Regions from separate parts of the Homo sapiens genome. Here all the other regions are linked to region 1. The links are contacts of gene promoters, found by promoter capture Hi-C in blood cells and fetal thymus (Javierre and others, 2016). All regions are on one chromosome and are shown on one strand. Each heading gives the region's core, a stretch centred on a gene start or on the middle of the fragment in contact. The rest is flanking DNA. Distances are from core to core; before and after follow the strand shown. Region 1 holds the start of HDAC11-AS1 (HDAC11 antisense RNA 1). Region 2 has its middle 43 kb from the start of IQSEC1. Region 3 has its middle 6.8 kb from the start of WNT7A. Region 4 overlaps LOC105376957 (a long non-coding RNA gene). Region 5 overlaps IQSEC1 (IQ motif and Sec7 domain ArfGEF 1). Region 6 overlaps IQSEC1 (IQ motif and Sec7 domain ArfGEF 1).

Evidence for each region. The method cuts DNA at HindIII sites, captures the fragments that hold promoters and counts their contacts. A CHiCAGO score of 5 or more calls a contact.
Region 2: a fragment that was not itself captured here is called in contact with the fragment with the promoter of HDAC11-AS1 in region 1 in 1 of 17 cell types (total B cells); the score reaches 5.1 in total B cells.
Region 3: a contact is called between a fragment that was not itself captured here and the fragment with the promoter of HDAC11-AS1 in region 1, in 1 of 17 cell types (naive CD4 T cells). The highest score is 6.3, in naive CD4 T cells.
Region 4: a fragment that was not itself captured here is called in contact with the fragment with the promoter of HDAC11-AS1 in region 1 in 1 of 17 cell types (naive CD4 T cells); the score reaches 5.2 in naive CD4 T cells.
Region 5: a fragment that was not itself captured here is called in contact with the fragment with the promoter of HDAC11-AS1 in region 1 in 1 of 17 cell types (naive B cells); the score reaches 5.4 in naive B cells.
Region 6: a contact is called between a fragment that was not itself captured here and the fragment with the promoter of HDAC11-AS1 in region 1, in 1 of 17 cell types (fetal thymus). The highest score is 5.2, in fetal thymus.

What each region holds. Positions count from the first base shown.
Region 1 is chr3:13,478,663-13,483,072 of GRCh38, forward strand. HDAC11-AS1 (HDAC11 antisense RNA 1) reads right to left here and starts at 1,391. Exons shown (of 2, transcript NR_046690.1): 1 at 981-1,391. HDAC11 (histone deacetylase 11) reads left to right here and starts at 1,644. Exons shown (of 10, transcript NM_024827.4): 1 at 1,644-1,687; 2 at 2,584-2,732. The coding sequence starts at 1,686. RefSeq lists enhancers at 1,000-1,059, 1,709-2,365 and a silencer at 1,520-2,009. The HindIII fragment of the contact is 8,461 bases long and covers 1-3,024 here.
Region 2 is chr3:13,113,924-13,118,568 of GRCh38, forward strand. It overlaps a transcript of IQSEC1 not described here. Among named protein-coding and RNA genes, the nearest start is that of IQSEC1, 43 kb to the left of the region's middle. The HindIII fragment of the contact is 5,310 bases long and covers 92-4,645 here.
Region 3 is chr3:13,884,542-13,889,257 of GRCh38, forward strand. No RefSeq gene overlaps it. Among named protein-coding and RNA genes, the nearest start is that of WNT7A, 6.8 kb to the left of the region's middle. The HindIII fragment of the contact is 510 bases long and covers 1,563-2,072 here.
Region 4 is chr3:13,900,312-13,904,831 of GRCh38, forward strand. It overlaps LOC105376957 (a long non-coding RNA gene), which reads left to right. Exons shown (of 3, transcript XR_001740602.3): 3 at 3,329-4,520. Among named protein-coding and RNA genes, the nearest start is that of WNT7A, 23 kb to the left of the region's middle. RefSeq lists a silencer at 3,681-3,975. The HindIII fragment of the contact is 1,161 bases long and covers 1,637-2,797 here.
Region 5 is chr3:12,983,565-12,987,795 of GRCh38, forward strand. The region is part of intron 1 of IQSEC1 (IQ motif and Sec7 domain ArfGEF 1); the gene reads right to left. Among named protein-coding and RNA genes, the nearest start is that of IQSEC1, 88 kb to the right of the region's middle. The HindIII fragment of the contact is 7,589 bases long and covers 1-4,231 here.
Region 6 is chr3:13,042,421-13,047,189 of GRCh38, forward strand. All of the region lies in intron 1 of IQSEC1 (IQ motif and Sec7 domain ArfGEF 1), which reads right to left. Among named protein-coding and RNA genes, the nearest start is that of IQSEC1, 29 kb to the right of the region's middle. RefSeq lists enhancers at 3,263-3,342, 3,783-4,202, 4,558-4,769. The HindIII fragment of the contact is 403 bases long and covers 2,031-2,433 here.

The sequences.
Region 1 (4,410 bases), core at 141-2,640:
TTGAGTGAGTTACTTCACCATTCTGTGCCTCAATTTCTTTATCTATAAAATGGGGATGACAATAGTTTGCCTCCTAGGACTGTCAGAAGAGTTCGACAAGCAAAAAGCATTTGGACTTCAACTTAGCACATGACAGATGGTCTCTGAATAATAATCAACATTATTGTCTCTTGATTCCCTGGACTTGCCCATGAAATCCAGAGAATGAAGTGCAACCAGAACTTCATTTTCTTCCTTTTTTTTTTTTTTGAGATGGAGTCTCACTCTTGTCGCCCAGGCTGGATTGCAATGGCGCGGCCTCACCGCAACCTCCCCTCCCCGGTTCAAGCGATTCTCCTGCCCCAGCCTCCCGAGTAGCTGGGATTACAGGCGCCCTTCATCACGCCCAGCTAATTTTTTGTATTTTTAGTAGAGACGGGGTTTCACCATGTTGGTCAGGATGGTCTCGAACTCCTGACCTCAGGTGATTCACCCGCCTCGGCCTCCCAAAGTGCTGGGATTACAGGCGTGAGCCACCGCACCCGGCCCAGTACTTCATTTTCAGATGCAGACATGAAGGACCAGAAGGCTGAAGCAACCTGCCCAAAGCCACTATGCTGGCGGGTGGCCGAGTTTGGGTTTAATCCAGGCCCGAACCTCAGTTCCCTCAAGATAAAGTTGGGGTGATTATGGCACCTTTCTCAGGATTAGGTTGTGAGGCTCAGATGCCATCATGCAATCATGGCAGGCACACGGGGGCCCCTCTTCAAACGTCTGTGCGCTTCCCTTGTGCCCCGCCCTGGCACACAGCCGCCCCCGCGGAGCCCAGGGATCCCAGCCCGGCAGTCCTCCGTCAGCTGCTTCTGTTTGGATGGCGGGGACGGCTGGGCCGACAGAGAGGCCCATTGTCTCCGTCCTCTGGGGCTCTATTGTTGGGGCCTCCTCCTGGGTTGCAGCCCCACGGACAACCCCAGCTGTCGCTTGGGCCTGGCTCAGCTTACCCCGGCGGTGAGGGTGCGGGTCGGGGACGGAGACGCGTGCACCCTGAAGACAGTAACTAGGCCTGCTCTACAGAGGGAAACGCAGGCTCTGAGAGCCTACATGTCTTCGCCGGGAGTGCTTGTCCCGGAGCTGCTCGCAGACTGGGCCGGGGGTGGGCTCGGGTCGGAGAGGTCACGGGGCTCCTTAGGTCACAGGCGGCAGGGCCAGAGAAACTCCCCCGCCCCTACGTTTAACTCGCGGAAACAAGGGCCCAGAGAGCCCAGACGCCAGCCCAAGGTCACACAGCGAAGCCCCGGCACAGCCCGCCGGGAACCTGTCGTTTCTAACCCCCAGCCTCTCGCCGTTTCTACCCAGCTTGGGAAGCGCAGGAACAGGACATACGGTGGTCGCGCCCCTTCCGCGAGGCCGGGGTGAAACCCGCTTGGCCCTCCCGCCAGGGGGCGGAGCTTCCGAACCAGGCGGGATTCCACCGGGTATTTGCCTGCGGAGGCGGGACTTCGGGCTTGATGGGCGTTGGGGGTGGCCTTCCTGCGGGCAGGCTCTCTGTGTCGCAACACTGGCGGGGCGGGCCAAATCGGCCAGAGCTCTGCCCCCAGAGGACGCGGCTAAGCCCGGGGGCGTGTCCTGGGCTGGCCCCACCCGCGCCCCGCCCCGCCCCGCCCGGTCGCGGAGCTGCGGCCAGCTTTGGGAGGGCCGGCCCCGGGATGTGAGTGCCGCGGGGCGAGGGCGGGGGTGGGCTCCCAGGGGTCCCGGTGGGCGGGCGCGCTAGGGCGAGGGCGGGGACGGCCGGGCGGGCGCGCCAGGTAAGGGCCCAGATTTGCTGGTGAGGGGTGAGGGACGCTCGGGACGGGTGTTTCCAGGCCCTCCCGGCGCGCCAGGCCAGCCCCGCGCCCCTGCTCGGTGGCCCGAGGGACGCGCGCCGGCCGCGGGCCTGGGCCCGGACCCGGAGCGGTCGGGCGATGTGCGCGGGTCTGACGTCTGCGCTGCCCAGCCCCCTGGCTACGCGGACGCCCCCACGGAGGCAGCCACTGGGGCGGATTTCTGTCTCTGGGTGACGACTGCCAGGGTGTGATGGGAAGGGTTAGCAGCGCAGCGGGGTCAGGGGATCCCCGCCCCCCGCCCTGGCTCAGGTTGGGTCCCGACTTGGGTTTCTGAGTGCTTACTGTGCTCAGCTCCTCAGTTGCATTCTCTGAGTCCTCACAACAGCCACACATTTTGCAGCCGAAGCCTTGTGCCACACAGCTGTGGGGGCATTTATTACGGTGCAGAGGTGATGCGCGGAGGCCTTGCAGCCAGACACACCTGAGTGCACGCCTGCTTCTCCACAGACCTGCACTGTGACCTTGGGCACACCTGGTCTGCTCTCTGAGCCTCTGGTGCGATTGTGGTGCCTACCCCCAGGGCTGCTGTGAGGACTGGATTGGAATTGGGTTCCGGGAAAGGCAGCCAGTTTAAGCAGCTGTTGTTGAGGGGCCCTTGTCTGCGGCTGAGGGGCTAGTGGTGCTGGGCAATGGCTGGTGGGTCAGTCCAGGCGGGCTCGGGAGGGAGCTGCTTTCTGCCGAGGCTGCCCCAGCTGTGCGTCTGTCTTTTTCCACACGGTAGGCTACACACAACCCAGCTGTACCAGCATGTGCCAGAGACACGCTGGCCAATCGTGTACTCGCCGCGCTACAACATCACCTTCATGGGCCTGGAGAAGCTGCATCCCTTTGATGCCGGAAAATGGGGCAAAGTGATCAATTTCCTAAAAGGTATGGAAGGTCCCCCTTGGACTCTCATCTGCTTCCTCCAACCCACCTGTCCTCTCCGTCCTCATCCCCAACATAAGCCTCAGGCTCTCTCCCATCTTCAGTTTCAGCCCTCGGATGGCCTTCCACCCATGCTTCCGCCCAAAATGATTTTTCCAACACAGACTCCTAATCACGATATGATGTCCCTGACTCAGACTCTCCCTGGCTCCCCATCCTGTGGGCCTAAGTCCTGCCTCTGCCCAAGAGGCCTAGTGGAAAGGTAGCTGATTACTGATGGGCACAGGGAAGGTGAAGCTTGGAGGAGTCCATTTCCTAAGGTTCAGAGAGTCAGGAGGTAGAGCACCTCCACCGCACCTCTCTTGATTACAGATGGGGGAAATTGTGTCCTAGAATGATTAGGAAACATGTGCACCCAATTCCAGTCCAGTCCTCACAGCAGCCCTCGGGGTAGGCACCACAATCGCAGCAGAGGCTCAGGAGCTCACTGTAACCTCCGCCTTTCAGGTTCAAACAATTTTTCTGCCTCAGCCTCCCAAGTAGCTGGAATTACAGGCGTGAGCCACCACACCCGGCCCTGATTTCTTAATATGGCACTCATTATAAGATTGTAAAAGCCCACCTGTAGACCGAACTGGGCACACTGGCTGCCTGCTTGTGACCTCTTTCCAGGGAAGGACACAGCTCCCATTAGTGGCTGAAGTAACACAGTTACAAGAGGCGGAGTTGGGTTTGGAACTCAGAGCTCCAGGCGCCCTACCTTTAGGGCTCATCCCCTTGAGCAAAATGATGCTTCGAAGAGCATATCGTTTTAACTGTGGTTTGTAATCAAGGGGCCTGATTTAGGTGGGAAATTCACTTAAACTTGTTTTAAAAGGAAACATTATGTCATCAAAATGGGAAAAGGCAGTTTCACTTGCCATAAATAGGTCATGGTAAAAAAGTAAATGCAATGAAAACAACAGTATAATTCAATCCAGGCTGGTTACTATTGCCTGCAGGCTGTGAGACTGATTAGTGGTTTGAACGGAAGATGAGCAAAGCACAGGCAGGTGTTGCGAGGCCATGCCACACTGAGCCTCCTGTAATATCATCAGAAGGTGGAGGGAGGCCGGGCGCAGTGGCTCGTGCCTGTAATCCCAGCACTCTGGGAGGCCAAGGCTAGGAGAACACTTGAGGCCGGGAGTTTGAGACCAGCTTGGGCAACATAGCAAGATCCTGTCTCTACAAAATAAAAATAAAAAACTTAGCTGGGGGTGGTGGTATGCACCTATAGTCCTAGCTACTTGAAATGCTGAGGCAGGAGGATCACTTGAGCCCAGAAGTTCGAGGGTGCAGTGAGCTATGGTTGTGCCACTGCACTCCAGCCTGGGCTACAGAGCAAGACCTTGTCTTGCATTTATTTATTTGTTTATTTATTTATTGAGACAGGGTCTCACTCCCATCACCCAGGCTAGAGTGCAGTGGCGGAATCAAGGCTCATTGCCACCTCAACCTCCCTGGCTTAAGTGATCCTCCCACCTCATGTTTTTGATATTTTGTAGAGATGCGGTCTCACTATGTTGTCTAGGCTGGTCTTGAACTCCTGGGCTCAAGCAATCCACCTGCCTCAACCTCCCAAAGTGCTGGGATTACAGGCGTGAACCACCACACCTGGCCAAGACCCTGTCTCTTTAAATGA
Region 2 (4,645 bases), core at 1,497-3,996, 360 kb before region 1:
CACCAAATGACTCATGTCAAAACGTGCTGGGAGCACAGAGCCAACTGCAGAAGTCTCCACATACGATGAGACTCTGTTCACGAGAAAAGAAAGCTTACATGGGATACAGTAGGCTTAGCGTGTGCACACACTGTTGATGCAAATGCACAGAAGATTCTGGAAGGAAATGCTCCAGACATGACAGCAGACACCTGTGCTGAGGGGCCAGGCTGGGCCAGAAGTGACTTCAGCCTCATTTTGGCTTGAATGAGTCTGAAGGAGAACCCACGCATGTGCTGCTGATTACACCTGCAGGATGCGGGTGGGGATACAGAATTGGTGGTGTTTTTCTCGGGTGTGGCTCTCTAGGACAGTGTCCCTGTTCTCAGGGGATATATGCCCAAGAATTACAGGTGGGGTGTCACGGCACTCATGGCCTGCAGGTGGGCAAAAGGGGGACACAGGTGAATGTTCCCACAGGGAGAGAAGGACTGGCCACAGAAGATGTTAACAGGTGGGGGACCCAGGAAAAGTCTGTATAGGTATTTATTGTGTTGTTATTTCAAATTTTCCCTGGGTCTGACATTTTTTAAAATAAAAAAATATATGCCAGGTGCAGTGGCTCATGCCTGTAATCCCAACAATTTGGGAGGCAGAGGCAGGTGGATCACCTGAGGCCAGGAGTTCAATATCGGCCTGGGCAACATGGTGAAACCCTGTCTCTACTAAAAATACAAAAAATTAGCCTGGCATGGTGGTGGGTGCCCGTAATCCCAGCTACTCAGGAGGCTGAGGCAGGAGAATCACTTGAACACAGAAAGTGGAGGTCGCAGTGGACCAAGATCACGTCACTGCACTCCAGCCTGGGTGACAGAGTGAGACATCGTCTCAAAAAAAAAAAAAAAAAAGAATTACAAATATGTGACCTTGGAAGGACGATGGGTGACGGGTGCCAAAGAGAAGAGCCAAGCACTGTGAAGATTTGGAGAGGAGGTGGCATTTCAGCCAGTGCGGGAGCCGGTAGGGCCCATGCACGGTTCAGGAGAGGCTGAGCAGCCTGCGTGGGTGAGTGAGGCAGGACAAGCAGGAAGCCCCAGGCTGGGCAGTGTGGGGAGGCCCTGGAGGTGCCGGGCAGGGGGGCTGTGGGGGCTGGAAGCTCAGGTGCGGCCTTGAATGTAGAGCCATGGAATGTGGATTTCCTTCTAGCGGCCACAGGGAGCCACAGATGGGTTGTGAGCTGAGGAGCGCCATGGCTGAGTGAGCAATGTAACGCCCAGGGAGTCTGGCTCTTCCCTACCTGGTCCTGGCCTGATTTAATGCATCCCTTTCCCCCATCTGGAGCTCATTTCCCCCGCTTCCCTCCCCCGTTCCTCTAGCCAAGTCCTCTCCCCTCTCACTCTGGGGCGTCCTGCCTGGCCAGGTGCTCTGAGGAGCTCAGTTTCAGGATGAGGGCCTGGCCAGAAGTGGTACTGAGTTGCTGTGTCCCTCTGGGGTCTGGGCCCCCATGATGTCTCTTGACAGGTGTTCCTGTCCCCATTCCCTCAGCCTGGCCCTCTTAGCAAAGTCCTGGTGCTGCTGGTCTGCATGAGCCCCCTGATTTAGCCTTGCACTTTACCATGGTGGCCATGGATGAGTCTTCCCACCTCTTGCCCTATTTCCTCACTAGTAGAGCAGGAACAAGAATACGTTGTCTCACTGCAGAGTCACTCGAGAGGGGCACACACTGGCACCTGGGCTCAGGCTGTCAGAACGTTCTGGCCCCTGTCACTTGTCTCTGGCCCTGGCAGGCCCAAGGCTGGGCGCCTGAAGTGGGCACTCACCAGACCCTCTCCGGGCGCTGAATGCACGCTAGCCCATTTCACAGGCGAGCTAGGCACTGTTACTGAGGGCAGATGCCTACTCCATATCTACCCTTGAACAGAAAAACACTCTCTCCTTTGGCCCTGAGCCCCCAGTGGACCCCTCCCACTGCATGGCTACCTGCCTGGACCTGCTCCCCACCTTCCCATTCTCCAGCAACCAAAAGGTTAGCATCGGAAGCATCAGGGAGCCCCCAGAATGCTATGAAAGTTTAACCAATTCCCTGCAATTACGCCCCCTCAGTTTTTCCTTCAGCCAAATCAGCAGGAAAGAAGGGTCCCTTAGGATCCCTCAGGCAATGAAGAAGGGTCCCATAGGACTTTAACCTTGTTGCTACTTTATCCCTGGAGGGTGAGCCAGGCAGAGGCGCGTGGAAGTCCTCCCAGCTCCCTGAGGGCAGTCACTCCAGTGCTGACTAGGTGCCTGTGTGCCAGGCCAGGTGCTGGCTGCGGGAAACTCAGGGCCCAGGGGCAGCCGATGGGGCCGTGCAGGTAGGAGCTATATGTGGGGGCCAGATGGTGTTTCTGGCTTTGCGATCCTGATGTTCTCTGTCACAACTACTCTGACTCTGCCCATTCTCTCTAGAAAGCAGCCACAGACAATATATAAATGAATGGGTGTGGCTGTGTTTTAATAAAACCCAACTTACCAAAACAGACAGACTAGAATAGAGAGCCCAGAAATAAACCCTCGCATATACAGTCAAATGATTTTCAGCAGGGTGCCAAGAACATACAATGGGGAAAGGACAGTCTCTTCACCAAATGGTGCTGTGATAACTGCACATCCACATGCAAAAGATGCAAAAGAATGAAGCTGGACCCTTCCATGACACTATACACAAAAGCTGACTCCCGGCCGGGCGCAGTGCCTCACGCCTGTAATCTCAGCACTTCGGGAGGCCAAGGTGGGTGGATCGTTTGAGATCAGGAGTTCAAGACCAGCCTGGCCAACATGGTGAAACCGTCTCTACTAAAAATACAAAAATTAGCCAGGTGGTAGTGGCAACAGAGTGAGGTCCTGTCTCAAAAAAACAAAAACAAAAACAAATAAACAAACAAAAAAACTGACTCCCAATGGGCCAAAGACCTAAGTGTAAGAGCTAGGACAATAAAACCCACAGAAGAAAACACAGTGGTAAATCCTCATGACATCGGATTTGGCAATGATTTCTTAGATGGCACCACAGGCATAGGCGACAAATGAAAAAATGGATAAATTGGGCTTCATCAAAACTAAAAACTTTTGTGATTTAAAGAACACTATGAAGAAAAGTGGAAAGACAATTCCAAGAATGGGAAATATTTGCAAATCACATATCTGATAAGGATCTAGTATCCAGAGGATATAAAGAAGTGTCACAACTCAACAACCAAAAGATAAGCAACTCGATTAAATCATGAATAGACCTTTCTACAAAAAAGATACACAAATGGCCCATAGGCACATGAGATGATGTTCAACATCACCAGTCATCAGAGAAAGCAAATCAAAACCACAATGAGATACCACCTAACAGGTCATTAGAAAAAAAAAAAAAACGGCCAGATGCAGTGGCTCACGACTGTAATCCCAGCACTTTGGGAGGCGGAGGCGGGCGGATCACGAGGTCAGGAGATCGAGATCATCCTGGCCAACATGGTGAAACCCCGTCTCTACTAAAAATACGAAAAATTAACCGGGCGTGGTGGCGTGCTACCAGGGAGCCTGAGGCAGGGGAATCGCATGAACCCGGGAGGCAGAGGTTGCAGTGAGCCGAGATCACGCCACTGCACTCCAGCCTGGTGACAGAGCAAGACTCCGTCTCAAAAAAAAAAAAAAAAAAAAAAAAAAAAAAGCCACGGCTGGGTGCAGTGGCTGATGCCTATAATCCCAGCACTCTGAGAGGCCAAGGCAGGTGGATCACAAGGACAGGAGTTCGAGACCAGCCTGGCCAATATGGTGAAACCCCATCTCTACTGAAAATACAAAAATTAGCCGGGCGTGGTAGAGTGCACCTGTAGTCCCAGGTACTCAGGAGGCTGAGGCAGGAGAATCACTTGAACCCGGGAGGCAGAGGTTGCAGTGAGCCAAGATCACACCACTGCACTCCAGCCTAGCTGACAGAGTGAGACGCTGTCTCAAAAACTAACAAACAACACATAAGTATCGGTGAGGTATTTGCAAATCACATATCTGATAAGGATCTAGTATCCTTATCAGAGAAACCGGGCCCCCTGTGCACTGCTGGTGGGAGTGTAAAATGCTGCAGCCACTGTGGAATACAGTAAGTATGGTGGCTGTAGGTAGTGTTTGCTACAGTTAATCATAACGTATAGTTTCAAATAGCGAGAAGGAGGCTATTGAATGTCTCCAACACAAAGAAATGACCGATGAGATGATGGCTGTGCTAACCACCCTGGTCTGATCACCAGGAATTATATATATCCAAACATCATGATGTAATCCATGAATATGTACAGTTATTATGTGTCCATTTAAAAACTTAAATATAATTTAAAAATCAAACACAGAATTATCATCTGATTTAGCAATTCTACTTCTGGGTATAGACCCCAAAGAACTGAAAGCAGGGTCTCGAACAGATGTTTGCACACACATGTTCATAACAGCATTATTTACAGTTGCCAAATGGTGAAAACAGCCAAAGTGACCATTGATGGGTGAACGGATAGACAAATTTCGTCCATATATACAACAGAGTATTATTTAGCCTTAAAAGGAAGGGATTTCTGACCCAGGCTACTACACGGATGACCTTGAGGACATTGTGCTAAGTGGAATCAGCCAGTCACAAAAGAACAAA
Region 3 (4,716 bases), core at 568-3,067, 410 kb after region 1:
GCCACTAGCATTTACAAAAAGAAATAGATCAGAAAATAACAGAGGGCATTATGCATAAGGTTCCAACTGTGTGTGTGCGTGTGTGTGTGTGTGTGTGTGTGTGTGTGTGTGTGTATTGGATGTGTATGTGTATACATTTTGGGTTAGGATTTTTTAAAAAGTTGAGAGACTACTACTGCAGCCTGTTTTCCTTTGCATATGTCTAGAATGCCTTTAGCTCTTTTCTACCTGGTAAACTTCTAACTTATCCTCCAAATCCCACCCAAATGTCAACTCATCTGAAAAGCCTTCCTTGATCTACATTACTCCTATCCTAGGCACTTGGTGTCTTCCTCATTCATTCAGTCATCAAACATTCGTTGAGGATTAAACTGTGCTGGGCCCTGGGCTGGGTTCACTGCTGGGGTACAGCAGTAAACACAATAGATATGATCTTCAAAGGGACCACCTTTTAATGCATCTCTTCCTCTGTGCTCTCACCCTTCTTGTGCTGATCTTGGCAGAGCCCTTCCCACCCCAAATGTTGTATGGCCTCACTCCCCTCCCTCCTCCATCAGGACATAATCTCCTTGTGGGAAAAACGCTGTATCCTTCATCTCTGTCTCCAGCACCCAGGACAGGGCTTTCATCAACATGAGGACCATGGTTTGGTAAAAAGAGTTCAGACTTTTGGGTCAGATAGGTCTGAGTTTGAATCCCAACTCTGAGACCTACTAGCTTCGTGATCCAGAACGGTTTATTTTTAACTTGTTTGGATTTCTGTGGGCCTAATAATGTTCAGGTAATTTAATCCTTCACCTGACTGGGAGCTCCTCCAAGGATTCATTCCAAAACCTGGAACCTAGTGTGAATAACGGTTTCATGACTGTTTCAATGGGACCCATTGCAGAAAGTTCTTCTTTGGCAGAGTCATGCTAGCCCAGAATTTTTCTCCCCATTTAGCTCCCTCTGCCTGGATTAAGAAGTGAGAAGGATACCTCTTCAGCAGGTACTGTTCCTCTTTAAGCCAAATCAACCATACCTGGGGCAGGTGCACAGTCAGCCAGGTGCTTTGTCGCCCCCTGCTGGATACAGAAGGAGATCAGCTTAGATCTCGGCCACAGCAATAATCTCTAAGGGATATGGAGTCCTGCTGTATACCAGACACTGCTGTCAGTGAGGGCTCTAGAGGTGTCCACATCCTGGCTCCACCGTTTATTATCTTTGTGACCTTGGAAAAGTTACTTAAATCCCTCGTTGCCTCAGTTTATCTGTAAACTGGGCACAGTAATGGTTTCTACCTCCTTGGGTAGTTTTGAGGTTTGAGATACTACAAGTAAAGTGCTTAGCACATTGCCAGGAACATAGCCAGTGCCGTGTACACGCTTGTAAATTAAATTAAGAGAGAGGCCACCGCCACCATTGGTGCTGCCACGGATCAAGAAAGGGTGTTTGTGTTTAAGGTGGTCTCTAACGGCGGGTCCCCCAGGGTGAGATTATAGAGACTTTCCACCTGTGTTTGGTCCCTCCGTTTTCTTCATTGATGCTTAGAAGAAAACTTCAGCAGCATAAACCATAGCCAAAGCTTTCAGTAAGTGTTTGGAGCTGCTGGGAGCCCTGTACTGGGAGCATTTTTTTTTTCTTTTCTTTTGAGACAGAGAGTCTCGCTCTGTCGCCCAGGCTGGAGTGCAGTGGCTCGATCTCGGCTCACTGCAAGCTCCTCCTGGGTTCACGCCATTCTCCTGCCTCAGCCTCCCGAGTAGCTGGGACTACAGGTGCCCGCCACCATGCCCAGCTAATTTTTTGTATTTTTAGTAGAGACGGGCTTTCACCATGTTAGCCAGGATGGTCTCCATCTCCTGACCTTGTGATCCGCCCATCTCGGCCTCCCAAAGTGCTGGGATTACAGGCGTGAGCCACTGCACCCAGCGGGAGCATCATTTTTGTTGAATGAATTGATGAAGGAAAGAAATACTCTCATGTGGGAAAGTTCTCAGAAGAAAATGAAATTCAGAGCTGTGACACAGAACAGCTCCGTGGGGAACCTCAGGTAGTGTGACCAGAGAAGGCTCTGAAGAGCTGAGAACTGAACAAGCTTCATTTTGCCTCCTCCAGAAGCCATCCCTGGCCAACTCCTCCAAAAGGATATTGACCTCCACAGCCTCTGTGCTAGCCCCTGTTCAAGCAGCCACCATAAACACCACAAACACCACAGCCTCATCTGTGTGTTTGTTTGCTCCCCATCCCCTGACATGGGCACCTCCAGAGGGCACCCAGAGCTGCACACCCAGTGATGATCACCAGACCCCGGGTAATCAGCCCGTGGAGAGCAGAGGAGCTGGAAAGAAGGAGAGGTGGGAAGGAGGTGGCAGAAGCCATTAGGGTGTCAATTGTAAAGGCCTGTAGCCTTCATCCTGTAGATGGGAAGGCACCCACATTGTCAGAGCAGGGCTGTTATCCAGTCCCATGTGGGTTTTCACCAGTGAGATCAGCCTCTATTATTTTGTGGCTATCCAGCATTCAACTCCTGTGACTGGCACCATGGTGTCTGCTTGGGGAGCCCCCCTCTGTGCGCCAGGCTGGTAGGAGGTTGTGCTGCCTCCGATGGAATCTCTTCTTCCTCCTTCTGCCTTGGAGCTGTTGGCCCCCAGGTCCTCTCTCCCAGGATTAGAGCAGGCAGGGCAAAAAGCTGGGGTCTGAAGACTACATTCCTACAGCTGGGGAGCAGCAGGAACACAGAGACCATCCATCTGCTCAAATAAGGAAACAGCCTCTCTCTTTGCACTGTGATAGCATGCACAATTTACTGAGGACCTAGTATGTGCCAGGCTGTCTGATGGATGCCTTATATTTCTTTGCTGCTGGCAGCACTTTTCCCAGATGGCTGTATGGTTCACCCATTACTTCATTCAAGCAGAATATCACCTCCCACATCGCTGCCCCATGGGGGTGACCCCTGAGTACCCTGCGCTTTCATGGCACTGTCTAGACCACCTCTTACTCTGGCTTTATTTATATGCCTAGAATGTATCAGCACCCCCCAACTTTACATTGTGTATTTGTTGACTTTTGTTTGTCTATCTTCCTCATTGCACTGTCTGCCCCACAAGTAGGAATATTTGTTACTTAACAGCTGCATTTCATAGAATGATGCCTGGAACATGGGCGGCCCTTGATGAATAATTGTTAGACACATGAATAATTGGATGATTCTCATGCACTCCTCATAAAAACCTCATTTTCCGGAAGAGAAAATTGAGATGTTGAGGGGTTAAGTTGCTTACCCAGCATCTAGCTGAGCGTCTAGCTGAGTGTCTGGCACTTATGTTAACACATGTCTCCATTCCCTTTTTGTCTTCTCCCACATCTCCTCACTCCTGCTAATAATAGGCTCCTTTGCACTGATTTCGCCTACATAGATTTCATCTCCATCCCAGCATTCCTAATACCCACTGCTATGCACGAGGTAGGCCTCACCCAGGCCAGTGATTCAGTGTTATCAAGGGGGCAGGAGTTGGGGGCAGAATGGGTAGGACCAGAGCATCCTGACTGGGAGGAGCTGGAACATGGGCCTTGGGGCTGGAAAATTGATGTCTCCCTCCCCCTGCTGCCAAAGTCCTATTGACTCCCTTGCTGAACCATCAATCTGTTTGTGAATCTGGGGGCCAAGATTGTGGAAGAGGCTGCAAAGAGACAATCCATCCTACAGGTGGGGAGACTGAGCCCCATTGCAGGCCCGAGAGGCTCCAAAGGCACATAGCCAGCTAGGGGCAGAGTTGGATATGAAATACTGCTAGGGCACTGGGGCAACACACCCAGCTTTGAGTCTCGGCTCAGCCTCTTGCTGTGTGACCTTAGGAAAATGGTGAACCTCCCTTAGCCTATTTCCGTATCTGTATGGAGATGATGATAATAATAATGCCATCTCATAGGTTACAGCAATCATATATATAACACATTCACATTTCACAGAGCAACTGGCACATAGCATGCACTCAACACATGATAGTTATTTGATGATGATGATTATGGCGATAAAGATGTGTATTGGAATCCAGCCCTCTAGGATCAGAGGAATCTTAAAGATGATCAGGGCCACTGTTTCTCAAACTACTATGTGCATCCAAATTACTTAGGTATGAAACAGATGCCCAGGTCCCCCTCAAGACCTCCCAAGTTGGACTTCCTGGCAGAGGTGGAGGGAAGTCTATCCCATCTCCACTGAGTAGTGGCCAACTGTGCTCAAACCTCTCTCAGGGAGAGCGGCTCACTCATCCCAGGGGAGCCCCTTGCATTTGGATACAATGGTGACTGGGACACTTCTTCCTCATACCAGTGAGAAATCAGCTGATAGAGGTTAGAGGGATCAGAGAAGGGAACAGTGGGTCCCCACTGTTCTGTGGCCCTTGATTTCTCCAGCTCAGAAATGGAGTAAGGCATGCCAGCTCTAAGTCTCTGTCTCTTCAAAAGGGATCTATGGACTCCCAGGTTTCCAGAGAGGAATGCTCAGGGCTCCAAGAATGAGAATTTCAAATGGTCTTTTTTTTTTTTTCATTTTAACATGAATCTAACATCCTCATATTTCAAACTATTAGGATGACCTCATTATAACTGATAACTGTCCTCTAATTAACTTTGCTGTTTGAGTTTGCATTTTTGCTTATGGTCATAAGGTTCCCAGGAAAACCACTTTTGTGATTTGGAGCCCAGGAGAAGAAAGCAGTAATTCACTGAAGC
Region 4 (4,520 bases), core at 967-3,466, 420 kb after region 1:
AGAGGCAGTTCATGACCCTGTCTTAGATTTTACTTCTGGCTCGTGCAGAGCTTCCTGGACAGCCTCAGGTGAGAACCTAGGGCCTTGTCATGTCTTTCCTAGCATACTTATAGTCCTGAGTATGCATGCTATTCCTATGCATGCTTAAAGCCCCCCATGGACACTTTGTTCCCTGGATTTTACTTTTTAAAAGCTTTTTTGGTTAGCTTGTTATTTGATCCACTCTTATCACTACCTCAGGCAGCTGCAGTATTAAACACTTGCCATTGATGATTTTTGATGAATGCCTGTGGAGAAAAGGCCTTTCACACTGCAGGAAATCTGAGTGAGGTAAAATAAAGAGAAGACCTTTGAGTGGCGCTTTCTTAGGAAGCTCCAGATTAAATAAGGACAGTTGTCTAGGATTGGGGTGTTGGATGTTTCAACCTGTTCTTCCTCTCCAGTAGCTGCTAGGTTGCAGATTTTAACTATGATTACTGATTTTTGATTTTCAAAGGTGCTGTGCAGTTGGGATAAAGTGAGTAAGAATAGAGCAATTTATATGCCAAAAGAAATGCTGTCCTTACCAATATTCAGCCATTTTCTTGAATAAATGCTCTCTGGATTATTATAAGATTTTGGTTAATTTCTAGAGTTCTGAAAGACTTGATTTCAATAATTATTGCCTGTGTTCCCATTGCTTTTATGGAGTAGGGGAGTTTTGGAGGTCCTTATTCTGCCATTCCCTTCTGACATCACTCTAGCTGCTATTTCTAGTAACTCCGTTTCCTGTCCAGTCCTCTTTGTGCTTACTCTCTGTTCTATATACTTTCTCTTTCATCTTTTCATCTTCCTTCTGATTATTTTATTGGCTTTCTGCATAATGCAAGATCATGTTTGAAATTACTCAAATGTTATCTTCCCTGAATTGTTTATTTCTGCACCAGTTGTCTTACAATGAGTACTTTTTCAGCTAGGGAAGAGGTCATTTGCAATTGAGCTCTCAATAGTTCTAGAAGGTGAGACATGAAACATACAATAGGACAATTCTGAACAAGGGTATTCCTAAGTTGACTGAAAGAATATTCACAAGGAAAAGCTCTTTGTAAAATTTATTTCAAAAGGAGGGGAGGGAGACTTGAAGCTAGGTACATTCATCTTCAATAAAGCATTGACTGTGGAGAAAGGAAATGAATATAGTAAAATTGGAAGCCAGTTTTTATCTGAGCTCAAAGCTAATTCCTCCAAGGAAAGCAGCATCTCATAGTTATTTGAGGGCATTTGAAGTGTAATTTTGATACAGTTGAGAGAAACTGTGCTAGCAAGAAATATTATAAACATAAAAATGTGGGAAATTATTAGTTCAACCTATGCATGTGTAAAACTTTTTTTAATATAATAATGTGGGACAACTTTCAGTTATAACAAACTTCATAAGACATCAAGAGGTTCATAGTGTAGAGGTTCCTATAAGTGTAATAAATGTAGGAAGGCCTTCACTAGAAAATTCCACTTCATTGTGCATAGAGAAGTCATACTGGAGAGAATTTTTATGATTTTAATTAAAGTAAAAAGCCACAGTACCAGGGGTTAAAATTCTTTAGCCACCCAAAATTTGTAGAAATGATAATCCTAATCAATATAACAAATATGGCAAAGCTTTCTTCAGTGGATAATACTTTATTGTATATCAGAAGAATCACACAGGAGGGGAAATTAGATTCCTATAGCTGCCAAAACAGATAAGCACAAATTGGGTGGCTTAAAACAACAGGAGTTTATTCTCTCACAGCTTAAGAGGCCAGAAGTCAGAAATAAAGGGATTTGGGAAGTTTGTTCCTTCTGGAGGCTCTCAAGAAGAAACTGTTCTATGCCCTTCTCCTAGATTCTGCTGGTTGCCAGTAATTTTTGGCATTGCTTGATGTGTAGCTATATCACTCCAGTCTCCATCCTCACATGGCTTTCTTCTCTGTGTGTGTCTCTGTCTCTTCTACTCTTCTTGTAAGGAAACCAGTCATCATATTTAGGGCATATCCTAATTTCAGTATGACTTTATCTTCAATAATTACATCTGAAAAGACCCCATTCCAAATAAAGTTACATTCCAAGATTCTGGGTGGATGTGAATTTTGAGGGGGAGGTGGACACTATTCAACCCACTACAAACCCCGTGAATGTAGTAAATGTGAGAAACCTTGTACCTGTAGCTCAGTTTCTGTACAACAATAGTAAGAAGTCCTTTGAATGCTAGCAATGTGGGCAGTTCTTTAACTATAAATCATCCTTCATTAGTATTGGAGAATTCATACTGGAGAGAATACAGTATAAACTGTAATTAGTGTGGAAATACTTTTCAAAATAACTTCTCTTTTACTAATGTAAAAACTCCTAATACTCCTAAATCTCATTAATATAGTCAATGTATTAAATTATTTAGATACCTCATTAACCACAGAGAATGCACATTGAAGAGAAACCTCATGATTATGTCACAGAGCCTTTAGCTATAAAGACCTCATTTAGAGAGCAAATAATTTACACTGGAGAAAACATTATCAATTTATTACATTCATCAGAATGTATAAGAGTTCATTAATTACTTGGCATGTAAAGACTCATGCACGTGGATAAACAACATGTGAGAACTCATACAGGTGAAAAGCCAGTTTGGGAAAATCACCTGGAAAAGAAACTTTGTAAATCACTAAATTCATCCTGAGTACATACTGAATTATTCTATTAATTTGGAAAATTTGGAATTCATGTAAACATATTCTAATAAATTGATATTATCAGATACCAAAAAGAAAAACTTATAAGCTTTAAGATTCTTCAGTATAGTGTTTATAATTTTTTGCATAATTTAAATTAATTCAGGTAGCAGAATAAAAATTCAAATACACTGGAAAGGAATAGGAATATGATAGGGTATGATTCAGAGTCCCTACTCTCGTAGTACCTTACTTTTATTTTTTAAACCAACAAGTTAGAAGGGAAACCTATTTATGAGGGTCATGTACCATATTTTATCAAATCAAACTTGTAATGAACTGTGAGATATGCCATTATTTTGTGTACCACTAAGACTTAAAAAACCTCCTAGACTATGGTATTTCATTGATTATAAGATGCATCATGATTCAGAGGTGTTGAAATGTGGGGGTATAAGTGAACCCTACAATGGAGTCTCTAAGCCATATGATAATTCAGTAATATTTCATTAGGTAGAGGGAAAAATGCATTGGATTTGAGCCCAAATTAACAAAATCTAATCTTTTCCTCTCTACCAAAAATCTTGTGCTGAAATAGTAATTGCACTTATTTCTGTAATATTTTGCTTTCTTTTCAGAAATCTTTTTTGGTATTTCAGCATGTGTATGGATGGTATACTAAGAATTGATCACATTTGGTTGTTGAGGGGCCAGGATGGCTGATTGGAAGTAGCTGCAGTCTGTGGCACTCACAGAGAGGAATGAAAGGAGCAAGTGAATTCAGCACCTTCAATTGAGATATTCGGGTTCTCATATTGGGACTGACTAAGCAAATAGCTTGACCCACAGAGAATGAAAAGAAGTGGGGTGGGGTGATGACCCACTTGGGAGCAGCACCAAGCCAAGGGAACCCCCACCCCCAGCCAAGGGAAGTGGTGAGTCAATGCGTGACCCTTCCCCAGAAATTACACTCATCCCATGGATCTCTGCAAGCTGTGGATCAGGAGATCCCCTCATGAGCCACAATACCAGGGTCTTGGGCTCGATACATGGCCTGTGTGGAGTCTTGGCAGAGTGGCCACTCAGGCACACACAGACACCCAGGAGTTTTGCATACTCCAGCCCCAGGATCTGTGGCAAGGCAGAAGATTCATCTGTGCATGTCCCTAGGAAGGGGGCTGAGTCTGGGGAGCCAAGTGGCATCATTCTGCAGGCCCCATTTCCATGGCATCTCACAGGTTGAGACCCAATGGCTTGGAATTCCAGCCAGCCGGCAGCAGTAGGCTGGAGTCTGCCTGAGTCTGGACCAAGTTCCCAGGGGTAGGGGTGGCTGCCATCTCTGTGGTTTGGTAGACTCAGTTGTTTCAGCCTGCCAGCTTTGAAAAATACAGGTGGTCTGAACAAGGGGGGGATCCCCACAGGACAGCACAGCTGCCTTGCCAGATCTTGGCCAGACTGCTTTTTTAAGCAGGACCCTGAACCATTTCTTCTCACTGGGTGAGACCTCCCTGCAGGGGCTTCAGCCACTCCAGCAAGTGTTCTATAGACAGAGCTCTGATCTCTACCCCCAGGGAGAGCTTTGTCCCACAAAGCTCCAGGGGGAGGGGTGGCTACCATCTCTGCAGTTTGGTAGACTCAGCTGTTCCAGCCTGCTGGCTTTGGAGAATACAAATGGTCCAGATGAGGAATGGTCCTCCCCAACTCAGCTTACCTGCTCTACCAAAGGGCAGTCAGACTGCTTCTTTAGGTAGGTCCCTGATCCTGTTCTTTCCCACTGGGTGAGACCTCCTAGCAGGGGTCTTCAACCACCTCCTGCAGCCACATTCAGGC
Region 5 (4,231 bases), core at 1,233-3,732, 490 kb before region 1:
TGAGCAGGGTGCCCAGAGGGGGTGCTGAGCCAGCCCCTGGAGCCCACTCAGCCCCGATTCCACCTTCTTGGCTCAGCTCCTTCAGGGACGCCTGGGCTGACCTCACAGGCCACGCTGGGCAATTCCTCCCAGCACCTGGGCGATGCTGTTCAGAGGACAATTTCCCTTTCCCTCTCCCCTCTGGACAGCTCCGTGAGGATAAGAATAAGGTTGTCCGACATACCCCACTTATGCCCAGCCTCAGCACGGCGCCTGGCACAACTAGCTGCTGGATAAATATTTGTGGATGAAATGAATATGCCCAGCTCATGTATGTCCCTGTCCCCAAATCCACATGCCTTTAAAAATAAAGCACCTACCTTCAAGGGGGCAGGCAGAGAGGTAAGGGCCTTTCATACGTGGGTTCTGGGGGATAGTAACATGGTAAACAGATGGTCTGCACAGAGCTGTCCTGACCCAAGGTACAGAGTGCCAGAAACAGCTGGAACTGAGATAGGGACCCAGGCCTTCTCTAAGTCAGGCCATCCTCCAGCCCCCAAGGTCAGGTCCATGGTCCAGTTCTCTCTGAAATTCACCAGGCTGGGTCTAACTCAAGCCGCTCCCATGGATCGGGGAAGGTGTTTGGAGTTTCCTTTCCCCTGGGGTTACCAGCAGAGTCCCTGGAGGGAGATTCTAGACAACTGAGCACAGGAGGACCACGGGGAGATAGGGAGGAGACCCCATGCCTTTGCTAGCGAGCATACTCAAGTCTAGTTTCACCATCCACATGTAGGGCCCCTGAGTAAATTTGTAAAAGGCGCCCTCTTCTGGTGGATACAGCCCCACAGGCCCAGGGCTGAGCTAACAAGAATGCCATTAGAGTGCAGTTGTTCCTCTGCCAACTGCCCTCATGCAGTGCACAACCTGAGTATCTGTACATTTGGGAGTGCCTGGAGTTCTGCCCCACAGGGTGACAGTGACTCTGGGTACCTGCCACCCTCCCAAGACCAACAGTGAATGCTGCTCCTCCTTTCAGGGGGCTGGGAAGCCTAAGGGCCATGCATGCACGACCTGTAGCCACATGGAACCACCTGCTGCCTTCCTGGGGAAAGATAAAGCCCCACCCCTCAGCCCCCTAGGAGATTTACATGGACAAAGATAAGTCGCTTACAGGTCCAGAAGTCACAAGATCAAGAGAAAACATGTTAGCCAGACTTAGCACTGCCTTCAGCTTCCTCCCAGTGCACTATTAACACTTTTAAAGCAATTACATTTTTTTTTTTTTTTTTTTTTTTTTTTGAGACGGAGTCTCACTCTTTCGCCCAAGCTGGACTGCAGTGGCGCTATCCCGGCTCACTGCAAGCTCCGCCTCTTGGGTTCATGCCATTCTCCTGCCTCAGCCTCCCGAGTAGCTGGGATTACAGGCGCCCACCACCACGCCCGGCTAATTTTTTGTATTTTTAGTAGAGACAGGGTTTCACCGTGTTAGCCAGGATGGTCTCGATCTCCTGACCTCGTGATCCGCCCACCTCGGCCTCCCAAAGTGCTGGGATTACAGGCGTGAGCCACCGCGCCCAGCCGCAATTACATTTTTAAGTAGTCAAATTTTTAAGGCAATCAAGACTGCATCCCTACATCACAGGCTTTAGCCCAAGTGGGCTGGGTGAGGTATGGCTTGCTTGGGTCTTGAAGGGGGCACACCCTCAGCCCTCTCACTGAGGCTGCCATACACGCTGGGCTCCCACACTGAGTCAGGAGCCCAGAGAGGGCCAGGGCTGCCTCAAGGTCACCCAATGGCCAGCTGGCAGTCAGGCTGGGCCCGAGTCAGGTCCCCAGGCCCCGCCCTTGCTCTAGATCCAGATCTGCTGGAGCCTGGGGGTGGGAGAGCTGGTCTCCAACTTGGGCCTTCACTGGGCACAGAGACACCGTTCTTTACTGCTTAACAATCCCCCCCCCCCCGCCAACCGTTTGCCCTGTGCCAGGCTGCAGCTTTCCTTAAGTCCTGCTGACAAGGAAAATCTGGTGCCAGCACCCACAAATATGTGTGACTTCTGGAGGGAGGCAGCAGCCTGGGTTCCCCAGGCCAGAGTGGGCGGATTTAAAGGACGGGTGGCAGAGTGGGGGGGGTCACTGGATAGGGGAGGACCAAACTGCCCAAGTATGTCTGGGATGGAGGGTGATAAACGTTTATATGTTTTTGACCAGATACCTGAAAAATACTTTCCATGTTTCTAGGGGGGCACATACATAGTCTTCACTGCATATTCTTTTATAATGTTTAAGATTTTCATCATGGGCCTGTATTTCCTAAGCAAATATTAAATTCATAGATCTAAACCCATACATAAATGGCCCAGGCAGAAAAGAAAGAGACAGGAGCTCAGAATTTCAGAAGATGAAGGGACCCCAGATACTGACCTTCTCTGTAAAAATGAAAGCTAGGGTTGACTGAGTGCCCATGGGCCTTGCCTGTTGGGCCATGTTTTGAAAGCCCTTCTTTACCATCTCATTTCAGCCTGAGCGACCTGAGGAGGGAGATGCTATTACTGACATCTTCCATGCTACAAACGAGGAAATGGAGCAAGGTCACCGCAGGCTGGACCCCTGCGCCCAGGTCACACCCACTGGCCAAGGCTGACAGCATGCTACAGGGAAGGCTACGTCACAGGCTGGGCTGGGAGCTGGGCTGGGACCTGAGGCTCTGGCTCCTGCTCTTTGTCCCGACTTTTTCCCCAGAGGCCTAGAGTTCCCTGGAGCCCCAGGTAACAGCAGCCCTGCGCCAGAGGCAATGTGCCTTGTCAGACAACTGAGAGTTCCCCGGGGGCCAGGAGCAGAGCCTGCAGCTTCCTTGGGGTCACACAGGCAGACTACTGAGATGCAGGTGGCCATCCTCAGCCCCTCTGTGAGCCTCAGTTTCCTCATCTATGAAACAGGTGAATCTTTCCTACCTTGGAAGGCAGGAGTAACGATGGCCCAAGATGAGGTATCTGACACACAGAGGTGCTCAGCACGCACTCATTCCCTTCCCCTCTCCCCTGCCTGGTGAACCCGAGAGTGGGAGGTCGGTCCTCTACTGGCTGCGTCCTGCCAGGCCAGGCATGGGGCACCGCCTGGGGAAAGGCACCAGGGTCTAGGGGGCAGGCTAACGGCTGGCAGTGACCCTCCCACCCAGAGGCACATACTAGGCACTGAAGAGGACGAGGAGCTGGGACGAGAACCAGGCTGGCAGGGTGCCTGTGCGCATATGTGAGCTCATGTGTGCTCCCCACAGGGGACCGAGACCCGGCAGGGGCTTGCTGTGGGCTGTGGCATCTCCCAGATCTCAGCTGCCCCAACAGACCAAGATAGAAGGAGCTTGGGAGGGGACATTTTATTTTCCAGCTAGAGATACTAATAGTGGGGCTGGCCCATCCCACCCTTCCCTTACCTTGGTCCAGTGCTGTGGGTGGGGGCCTCCTGCCACAAACAGCCGCAGCCTGGCTGGCTTCTCAGGCCTCCTCTGCTGCCCACACAGATGAGCTCCCTCAGCCGTCCCCCATCTGGTGCTGCGGCCAGTGCGGGTCATAAACCCTGAGCCCCTGCTTAATCCGCCAGCTCCCGAGTCAGCGCCAGCCAGACACGTGACACTGCAGCCCCACAGACCTGTTTGGCAGGAGCAGCAGCTGGTCCTGCTGGGGGCGGGGAGGGCTGTCCGCCTTGCCCTCGCCCTGTCCCTACCACCTCCCAGCCCACAGCCTGCAGTTGGGCCACTGCCTGCCTTGTAGCGAGAGGTATGGTACGTGCTGGGGGCAGTGCAGGTAGGGAAAAGAACACGGTTCTCACCAAATGGTGCCGGGCCACCTGGGAATGGGTATATGTGTGCACCTGGGGCCGTGCATGTGCACACATGTGCATGTGTCAGAGAGAGAGAGAGAGACCGTAGATGAAAATCTATTCCAGGTGGATTAAAGACCTAATGTGAAAGGTGAATAACGAGAATCTTCATGATTACAGGGTAGGAATGAGTTTCTCAAAACACGAAAAATGTTAATAAAGTGAGAAAGTTGACTACTTGAATTAAGAATTCTGAAATTGAGAAGTTTATCCCAACACCCTGTAAAGAGTGAAAAAGGCAGGCAGGAGGGAGGGAGAAGAGGTCTACAATGTGGATAACTGACGAAGGATTAGAATCTGTAGCACCCAAAGAAGCCTCCAAATCGTAAAGAAATAAAAAGACAGCCCAAGATGGGTGAAAGGCATGAACAGGCACTCC
Region 6 (4,769 bases), core at 982-3,481, 440 kb before region 1:
GGGCTAGTGGGAGGTGGAGAACCGGCTGCTTCGGCCCGCCCTGGTCCCTGCCACGGCGGCCCCCACTCACATGGCCCAGCCCGCCCGGCGCAGCTTGTACAGTACACGCCTCCAATACAAAGAGCAGCCAGCACAAAAGCCTAGCAACTCATTCACGCAGCTCGCCTGGCCCGGCTCATGCTGCTGCTGTCTCTGTTAGCTGGTGCCTCCGAGGGCTTCCCTGGGGGTCCCTGGGACACACCAAGGCAGCTCTGGCTGTATCAAGTTGTGGGGGCCCCCAGTCCATCATCCTGGGGGGTCTGGATGCTAGGGCTCCTGACGGTGGCTCTGCAAGTCTGTTCTTCCAACCAGGCCCTGGGGCTCCGGGTGGTGGGGCCGGCACTGGCTGGACAGTCCTACACCCGCCTGGCTGGCCCAGAGTGGCTGAGGCCAGGAAGACCCAGGGAGAGCAGGTAGGGAGGGGGCCAGATGACAGGCAAACACTGGCCTCTTTTGCCAGATAAATTACGTTTGGCGGAATCCCTGTTCGGCCTGTGCGAGGGAAAACTCACCATGTAGCCACATGGTGCTTGGGGTGGGGGCAGCTGGGCTCTGAAAGGCAGGCGAAGGAAGACTGACAGGGTCGCCCAGCGCCTGCCGTTGCCTGGGCGACGGGGACACATTGATAAAATCTAAAATGGAACCGCTATGACAGCCGCTCATTGGCTGCCGGCAGGGGAATCCTGTCGCTAACCAGGGAGGGGAGCGGCTGAGCTGCAGGGCCACAGACAACCAGGCGCATTGTTGGGCAGAGGGACCCCAGGCAGAATGGGTGGCCCCACAGGCCAGGGGACCTGGCAGTCACAGACAATAGGAAAGGAGTCCCTGGCCCACCCTCACCTCTCCCCTTGTATCTCCTGGGATCTGGCTGGTCCCGGCGTCTGCTCCAACCCTCCCATGGCCCATTTCCCACACACTAGCCACCTGAAAGTCTGAGGCTCTGGGTCCCAGATACAGTAGCCACCCTCACCCCCATGAATCCGGCACACCCTTTGGTTCCATGCAGTCTGCTCTCGGGTGCACTTCCTGCAGCTCCGCTCCTCCTCGTCAGTCAGGTCCCACTCCAGCACCCCTCGTGTCTAAGCTATAGCAGCTCAGCCCCCTTCAGCCACTACCCTGTCTGATTCTTTCCATGGGACATCCCATCCTCTGAAAGGATCCTGCTTTTGCATGTTTACTTGTTAACTGTCTTTCTCCTGACTACAAGCAACGACTCCAGGGCAGGGGCCACATCTCTTTTAAGGGCCGGCCCACTGGAGGAGCCTCGATAATCATTTGTGGAAGGAAGGAAGGATCTTGTATAGTGTGTGAAAGGCTCTCAGAGGCACCACACTCACCCCCTCTGGCCGCTTTGGGGCCCAGGTTTGCACAACCCGACATCGTTTGCAAAGCAGTGGTCACACTCCATTCAGACGAGGAGGTCTTGCTACCTCCCCACTCCCCCTCAGATGAGGAAACAGAGGCACAGAGAAGACCCCATCCCCAGAGGTGTGCACACAGAGTCCAGGAGCTGCTGCTCAGGGGGGTGACATCCAGGCGGTCGGATGGGAGCTGGTGCCACAAAAAAGACAAGGCTCTGTGTGCCTCTAGCAAGGCTGCTCAGCTTCCAAGGGCCAGGCTGGGAACCAGAGGCCTGATCTCACCCCATGCAAAGCCAAAGAACAAAGTCTCCCACCTCAGGTGGCATTTTCTCAGTGTCATTAGCAAAAATGCTGCTTCTAGAGCAATGGTTCTCAACCAGAGGCGTCTGGGTCATCCCCCCACCCCCAGGGACATCTGGTAATATCTGGAGAAATTTTGGTTGTCACAAATGGGGAGAGAGTGCCAGCATCCAGTGGCATTTAGATGTCACTAAACACCTTACCATGCACAGGACAGCCCCCACACCAGAGAATGGTCCTGCCCAAAATGTCAGTAGTGCCAAGGTTGGGAGACCCTGTCTGTAGTCACTTTCCCTTGGAGGTACCCGTCCTGGATGGCTGGAAAGGGAAAGCTTTCCAAATGGCTGGGTCCAAGCCTCTTATAATACAGTCGGGGAGTGCGAGGCCAGAGGTAAAGGGGGACACCCAGTGTCATCGGAATGGACCCAGGCTGGACGCAAGACACCCCAACTTGGGCTGATAACTGGGGGCAGGCAGGGGAGAGGCGATCTGCCGAGTGTGATGAGCCTGTTTGGCAAGGTAGCACAGGCGGGGCCAGCAGCCCTGAAGTGCTGCCCACTCCTCCCCCGCCCCCCCACACTCCTGGAGAAGGACATTAGCTTCCCTCTCACGCCTGTGGCAGAGGAAGCCGGCTGTGCCTTTGAAAGGCAGCAATTACTGGCTGGGACCTTTGTTTCTGAATTCCTAGGCTGTGCACAGGCCTCCAGAACCTCCGAAGGCTGGGATTCTCAGAAGCTTGCCCCCAGCAGCAGAGCTGGTGCCTCCACTGCACAAAAAGGGCACAGAGTTCTGGTAGCAGCGGGGGCCCTGGGCCCTAGTCCTGGACCTGGCACCAATGCTCTTCTGGTCTCAGGTACCCTCATCTGTGAAAGGGGAACATTGATCCTGGCCCTGTCTGTGTCTGAGGCTGCTGTGAGGGTTGGGAGTCAGGACGCATGCCAAGGCAAGATGGCAGGATGGGGCAGGCCCCACTTAGCATCTGCCTCCTGGCCACTCCTCCAGGCATGCTCCACCCCAGGGCCTCTGCACCGCTGTTCCCACCAGACTGTTGGGATGCTCCTCACCCCTCCTGTGCTTCCAGGCCCAGAGGCCTTCCCTGGCCACCCTCCCATCTCTGTCTATTCCCTTCACCTGGATTTATTTTCTCCATAGCTCTTGTCACCACTTGACACGTTATGTTAAAAACCAGTTTCTTTTTCTGCTTGCTGCCTGTGCTCCTGCCTGCCACAGATGCTCTGTGAAGGCAGCAGGACTGCTCAACGAGGGATCCTGAGTGCCCGACACCCGCAGGTGCTCAGGAAATGTGGCTGAATGCAGGCGGGGAAACAGCAGAGCTGAGGGGCTCCTACGGCCTCCGCTCTGATCCCTGCTCTGTCCTCCAGGGAGTGAGGCACTGGGGCATTGGCTCTGAGGTCAAGTGTGGCTCCATCCGATGGAGGGCTGTGCAGTGAGACCCAAGTGGGCAGGAGCACGGAACCTGCTAGGCCCCCACACATCCTAGAACAAAGAGCCCCATCCACACTCCCTGCATACCAGAACTTTCCTGGGCTGGCCTCGAGCAGGGCACCTGACTGACTGGCCGGCGGAGTGGACAATTCAGATGGAGCTGCAGTGGCGCCCGTGGCATGGGTGGGTGGTGCAGAGGCCAGGCTCAGCCCCTACAGGAGCCTCCTCAGCCTCCTTCCCTGGGGCCACCCTGACACAGGAACCCACACGCCTGCTGGCACCCTGAGCCATCCCATCAGGGGTGAGAGTGTGTGTACCAGTGTGAGCCCGCAAGCACATATGTGTCAAAATGGGGGCTGTGTGTTCACCCATGTGCAAAAGTGACAATGCTAGCATTTGACTACAGGAAGAACTGGGTGTGGGAATGTTCTGGAGTCTGTGTGTATACGTGTGTGCGTGTGAGATTATGCAATGGGCATATGAGGAACTACTAGTATGAGGGCAGGGAGTGTGCTACGGTGTTGGGCAGTATTCACACCAGGATACCCAAATGTTCAAATCCCGGCTCTGCCCCCGCAGTCTCGAATCCTGAGCAGGTGACGTCTGTGGAGTGGGCTAACAATAGCCCTGACTCGCTGGGCCATAAGGGCTGTCAGCTTTCACAAAGCAAAGGAAGTACTGTTATGATGATATGTGGGTGTGACTGTGGAGTGTCCGTGCAGAGGATCAGGTGACTGCGTGAGCGTGTCGCTCATGTGTGTACACGTGTGTACCACTTGGCTGTGTCCTCCAGGAGCGCACGCGGCGGGGCTGCCAGTCCCTAGCTGGCTCAGGGAAGCAGGGCCCAGATGGCCACCCCCTCGCTCCCTGCAGCCCAGAGTTTCAGAGTCGGTCGCTCTGACATCTCCTTCCTGTATAGCATCTGCTGCAACCCTGACACGTGGGGCCCAGCCCTTGGTTGCTGTCTCCAGGGACAGGGCCTACGACCTTGTGAGTCTCTTTTTGGGCTTGTTCAAAAACCCCCTCTCCCAGAAGCCAAGCTCTTTAGCAGGACGAAGCTCCCTCCCAAACCTCCCCCAACTCCCCTCCTCCCTCTCCATGGCCCGGCCACATCCACCCTCCACAGGTCCTTACACAGGGTGCTCCCTTCCGGGACCACTTGTCTCCCACCCTCCAAACAGGGAACCAGTCAACCTCTAGTCACCTCTACAACGCAGCACAGATGTCCCCTCCTCCCCAATTCACATCGATGCACCGAACACAGCCCTCTAAGCCACCTCCACTGCCAGGACAGTCTGCCTGTCACTTGTCTTTCTTGCCCACGAGACTGGAACAAGGATCTGCTGGCTTCCAATCAAGGGAGCTTTCCTCTAAGCGCAGTCTCCAGTATTTTTTTGTGTGTGTGAAAACAGAAAATGCTCTTTTTGGAAGACATCAAGATACAAAGCACACGGAAGCAGAGACCCTCAGACACCCCAGCTCCCACCAAGCGCAGCTGCACACCAATAGAAACCAACAGGCTTCTCCCCTGGGCTGCAGCCTTGGTCGTCATGGGAACTGCCGGCTGCAGGCTGGTCCTTGGGAGACCCACCAGCCTTGGATCTCGGAAGAACTATCAGCTGC